Linked DNA regions of Homo sapiens: region 2 is linked to region 1. The links are contacts of gene promoters, found by promoter capture Hi-C in blood cells and fetal thymus (Javierre and others, 2016). All regions are on one chromosome and are shown on one strand. The core of a region is centred on a gene start or on the middle of the fragment in contact, and the rest is flanking DNA. Distances in the headings are between cores, read along the strand shown.

Region 1 (2,726 bases), core at 93-2,592:
TCTGTGGTCAGATCTCTGGGGAGTTCCCAATTTCTCAGGCCCTGGGGTGTCTCCACACTTCACAGCCTCAGGCCTCCCAGGAGGCTTCACCGTAGGAGGGAGGGGAGGGACTTGCTGAGCTGGCTGGGACACAGCCTTGCATTTGCAACACTTTGCTTCCTTCCAGCCCCCATCCCTTTCCTCCTGGGGGCTGAGGGCTGGCAGCCGGACACAGACATCCGGGGCCGGCCAGGATTCTGGGGTTCCCACCAGCCTATCCAGGCCAGCAGAAGGAGAGGTGGCAGAGGACCAAAGCTAGGGAGTCTCCAGCCCGGAGCACCTCCGGGCTCCCTTGCTCTCAGGCAGGGTGGGAAGCTGGGCTGGGCAGCTTTGAGGGCTGTCCTCAAGGGGCTGTCCCTTGAAGGGACCCTTGGTAGCATCCTATCCCTCCCCTTCAGAAACTGGGGTGTTTTGAGGTTTGTTGAGTCCCCAGCTGGGGTTCCTCTGCCGGCCTGGGGCACCCTGATGTAGGGGAGCAGAGTTGTGTGTGGAGGTAAAGAGGAAGGACCAGAGCCAAGTCAGACAGGTTGTCAATGCCTCTGAGCCTTGGCCTTTCAATGGGGATGGAGATGCCCTTCAAGGTCACAAAGTCCCCCACGTGGGACTTTGCAGTGGGTCCAGGCTGAGGGCAGGAGGGGCTCAAGGCGAATCTGTCTGTCCCCACTCAGAATGACTGGCCACCAAGGGACTGAAAGGAGGAATGAGGGAAAGGCCTCACTAGTCCGACCAGAGTGACCCCGAGGCAAGGCAGAGCCCTCCGCTCCCCGGCTGGCCATGGCAGGCAGGCAGGGACGTGGGTGGGACCTCTGACCGCTCTCCAGGCCGGAGCGGGTGCCGAGCCCAGCGCAGGGGCCCTGCAGCTTCTATGACCACATTTCTAGAGTATAATTCAGGACCAGCCATCTGACGAGCCTGGTCGTGTGAGCCCTTCGAAGGGTTCAAGCGGGAGACTGCCAGCGGCTGCAGGACCAAGGCGTTGGGGGCCGCTCCAGGCTGCGGGGGCGCCCACCGGAGAGGTGGAGCGGAGAGGATGGAATGACTGCCCGTCTCCTTCCTCCAGGCCCCCCGCCCCGCCCCGCCCAGCTCGCGGGAGGACTGGCCTCGCTCCTGCCCACACCGGACTCTACCTGCCCCTGGGATTCGGGTGGGGTGGGGGGTACCCGACCGCCAGCGTCGCCTGCTGCGCAAGTGGGGCCTGCGAGCCAACCCCGCCTCCGCCCCTCGATTGGGCGCGCATTTAAATGTCCGGCCCCGCCCCGAGCTCCGGGCGCTTATATATAGGCAGCTCGGCGGGCGGCGGGCGGCATTCTGGCGCGGAGCGGAGCGGCGGCGGGCGCAGCTAGCGGGTCGGCCGCGGAGCGGAGGTGCAGCTCGGCTTCCCCCGGCACCCCTCCCCCTCGGGCGCCAGCCCCACCCCTCCGCCGGCCGGGCCGACCCCGCCGTACTATCCCCTGCGGCGCGAGCCCGGGGCGGCTCCAAGCGCCCCCCAGCAGACCCCCATCATGGGCAGCCAGAGCTCCAAGGCTCCCCGGGGCGACGTGACCGCCGAGGAGGCAGCAGGCGCTTCCCCCGCGAAGGCCAACGGCCAGGTGGGTACGCTTGGCCCGGCCGGCCCCAGCCCCTCCTCTCGCACCTCGCCCCTTCTAGGGCCCGGGGCCGGGGCCGGGGCCGCGCGCTTTGTCCGGCCCGGGACACGCGGCGCCCCCTCCCCCGCCCGGTCCCTTTGTTCTCGGCGCCGCAGCCCCCGCGGGCGAAGCGAGGGGAGGGGCGGGGAGGGGGCGCCGGCCGGGCCCTGCCGCCTTCTTTGTTCGCGGCCCCGGTCCCCGGCGCTGCCCCCCGGCCGCCCCGAGTGCCGCGCGGGGAACAAAGGCGCTGCTGGGCCACGCCAAGGGGGCGCCCAGGGGCCGCGGAGCTGGGGCCCGGCGGGGAGCGCACTCCACCCGCCGACCCGACCTCGGTGGCCCACGGTCTTTTTTTTTTTAAGGGGGAGCCGAGATGCGGGAGAGCCTGGGGTGGGTGGGGGCCACTTACACAAAGCGGGAGGCTGGGAAAATAGGCCGTCCAGGTGCAGAGAGACAGCGCCCCGGGGCGGCTTCCCGCCCAATGTCGCCTAGAGCGGCTCGCCCGCCTGCCCGGGATCCGCACAGCAGATCCGGAGCGGTTCCGCGCGGAATAGAGAGCGCGCCCCGGGGGACGGGGGTGGGGGCCACGGGACCCCAGCGCCTCCTGCCGGTCGCGCCCTCTGCGCGCTCGCTCCCCGCGCGCCCGTGAGGGGCGAGAGGGAGGTGTTTGACGGGATCCTGGGTGTGGGTGAGGCTGAAGCCAGACTTTCGGGTTGCAGTAGAATCGAATCGAGGACCCCTTCCTCTAGAAGGGATCAGAAGCGGGCTGGGGGAGGGGGAGCCCCTGCCCTCATTGCTATTCCCTCTGCCCTGCAGGAGAATGGCCACGTGAAAAGCAATGGAGACTTATCCCCCAAGGGTGAAGGGGAGTCGCCCCCTGTGAACGGAACAGATGAGGCAGCCGGGGCCACTGGCGATGCCATCGAGCCAGCACCCCCTAGCCAGGGTGCTGAGGCCAAGGGGGAGGTCCCCCCCAAGGAGACCCCCAAGAAGAAGAAGAAATTCTCTTTCAAGAAGCCTTTCAAATTGAGCGGCCTGTCCTTCAAGAGAAATCGGAAGGAGGGT
Region 2 (2,700 bases), core at 174-2,673, 300 kb after region 1:
CTCAAATACTTCCATAAGTCAGTCATTTTACTAAGTGTATTAATACAGGAAAATACTCATTCTGCCCCATCCCTAAACCGTAAAGTATTTCCAAAATATGTATAGACTATGTACTTATAAAATAATTGACAACTATTGCAAAGAAAAATGGATACCACAGAATATAAAGTGAAAAAGCACAATCCTAAATTGACCCTTTTAATATAGCATATATATACATGTATTCATAGGGCTCACCAGAAGGAAAAAAGAACTGTTTTATCACTGCTGTAGAATTCTGGAACTCTTTTTCAATCAATTCACAGGTAAGCTATATATATGGACACACAAGGAAATGGTCTTAAAGAGAAATGCAGAAAAGAACCTAAGTTATGGTAATGGAATTCAAGTTTCTTGTAAAATTTTATGGAGCTTTAATGTGGTTTTGATATTTTAAAATAATAAATCAAAATAACATAAAGGCATTTCTCCTTGTTTCCATGTAGTCACAGCTTGGAAATTTTTCATTTGTTACTCTCAGGTTCTAAATTATAATTTAAGGTTCACAGTTATCCAGATTTACAAATCCAAGTGTGTGCTTCACAGATGTCAAACGCAGAGGAAAGCATTGCATGGTGGCACGCACCTGTAACCCCAGCTACTAGAGAGAGCTAAAGTGGGAGGACTGCTTGAGCTCAAGAGTTCAAGACCAGTCAGGACTGTGGGGGTTGCAGAGGAGATACCCTCAAAAGGCGAACCATTCTGCTCCTTAGGGTTGTACTGTCTAAATCTCTCTGTTCCTCCAACTCCCTCCATCCATCCTCAGGACAAAAAACAGTGCTTATACTGCCTGACTCACCCTTGACTCTGGCTGTAATAGCCTTCGTAGCCTTCGTAACTTTGTTCTGCGTATGTATCATCATATCCCTAGAACAACAACAACAAAAAAATGAAATAAAAGATCAAAATCATAGAGAGTAGGAAAGGTAATTACATCCCATGGGAGTAAGTAGGCTTCTGAATTAAAAGGACATGACATTTCCCTCCAAAATGTTAATGCCTACTGTAGAATAGTCAAAAGAGAAAGGGTTACTAAACAAAGAAAACCCAAACAAATATGATATGCCACAGAAGAAGTGTGGGCAGGAAGTAAAGTACAAAATCGAGCTTTAGTATTATCAGTACTAGTAGTAAGAAATTCATTATAAAATACTACATTAAAGTACATTTTATTTCTTGTTTAATCTACAGGCGTATAGTAAAACCCTGCCTAAAATGGAAAAATCTTCTAATAGTTCAACATTCACTGCAAGAGAAGAGGGCAGATTGCAAATCTTACAGGCAGTCCATGACACCTACATAAAGGACCGAGGCCCTGTCATTCAACTTCCTTTAGCAGCCTTCTAGGTACTGGGAAATGGCACATTGTTCAAATTTCTTACATATTCTTCATATGTTTCTGGTGCAGGAGGTGGAGGCAAAGGTATCCTCTGGATGCCCGCTGTCCGTGCTCTTGGTGCTGGAGCACCCCTCACAGTAGGTGGGGGTGGCACGCCTCGAGTCACAGTGGCACCTCTGGTGATGGCTCCCCTTACTGGTGTACCACGTACCAAAGCCCCCCGAGGTGGTCCAACACCACGGCCCCTACAAAATGAAAGTTTATCTTAAATGGAGCTTTTTATAAACAGGCCACTTTTATGTTCTGATTTGTTTACAAATTCTGGAATTAGGCAGATTTTATGAAGCCTTAACTAGGCTATTATTAAAGCACAGAGGAATGTACAGGGTAAAGGACCCACACTGCAAGATCCCCCAGGTCCTATAGAGGACCAATTCATCACTGCACTGCCTTGGGTAGGTCTGGAGAGTCTGAATACTCTATAAAGGTCAGTCACAAAAGGTAGAATTTTAAAGTCAGACCATTAACAAATGCTAAGACTGTCCAAAATTAGAAGACCAAAAGTTTCAGCTAGACTGCAGCACTTGGCTATGGTCAAAGTGCCCAAGATCTAGAACTCTATTTTTTTTTTTTTTTGAAATGGAGTCTTGCTCTATCTCCCAGGCTGAAGTGCAGTGGCATGATCTCGGCTCACTGCAACTTCCGTCTCCTGGGTTCAAGCAATTCTCTTGCCCCAGCCTCCTGAGTAGTGTGGTGTATGCCACCACACCTGGATAATTTTTGTATTTTTAGTAGAGACAGGGTTTCACCATGTTGGCCAGGCTGGTCTCAAACTCCAAATGTCAGTTGATCCGCCTGCCTTAGCCTCCTAAAGTGCTGGGATTACAGGTGTGAGAGTATGGTTGTAGAATTCTGTTCTTTATGCAACATACAAATCCTGAGACCCTTCCTAAGCTAGACATAAGAGCACCACTAAAAGAGATGACACTAGTAGTCAAATTCACATCCTATTTCTGGGTGTCTCCATTATTTTTACCTGGGAACAGGTGGTGGAGGAGGTGCAGCTCCCCGGCCTCTCACTGGCACCCCACGTCCACGAGAGGGTTCAGGTACTCCATTCAAGTAGGACAGCTCTAGAAATTGCTCCTGACAGATATCATCCATCATATCCTGGGAACGAAAGATACAAGGAGTATTGTGTGGTATCTACACTTTCTACTGAGAAATCATCTGGTCCACGGGAGACTTGAATTCTAAGAAGAGCTCTTGAGAGCCCAGATGAGGTCTCAGGTCATTCCTTCTCTGAAGTCAAATGGCACCCT

Evidence for each region. Contacts are between HindIII fragments. The CHiCAGO score rates a contact against its expected background, and 5 or more counts as called.
Region 2: a fragment that was not itself captured here is called in contact with the fragment with the promoter of MARCKSL1 in region 1 in 1 of 17 cell types (total CD8 T cells); the score reaches 5.9 in total CD8 T cells.

The regions. Positions count from the first base shown.
Region 1 is chr1:32,334,849-32,337,574 of GRCh38, reverse strand. It overlaps MARCKSL1 (MARCKS like 1), which reads left to right and starts at 1,342. Exons shown (of 2, transcript NM_023009.7): 1 at 1,342-1,628; 2 at 2,478-2,726. The coding sequence starts at 1,542. It overlaps LOC124903949 (a long non-coding RNA gene), which reads right to left and starts at 2,198. Exons shown (of 2, transcript XR_007065661.1): 1 at 2,071-2,198. RefSeq lists silencers at 1-97, 1,031-1,560, 1,581-1,730, 1,861-1,940, 2,081-2,520 and enhancers at 761-850, 1,120-1,689. The HindIII fragment of the contact is 20,076 bases long and covers 1-2,726 here.
Region 2 is chr1:32,036,758-32,039,457 of GRCh38, reverse strand. KHDRBS1 (KH RNA binding domain containing, signal transduction associated 1) reads right to left here. Exons shown (of 9, transcript NM_006559.3): 5 at 2,415-2,548; 6 at 1,422-1,623; 7 at 839-906. Among named protein-coding and RNA genes, the nearest start is that of KHDRBS1, 24 kb to the right of the region's middle. The HindIII fragment of the contact is 3,062 bases long and covers 1-2,700 here.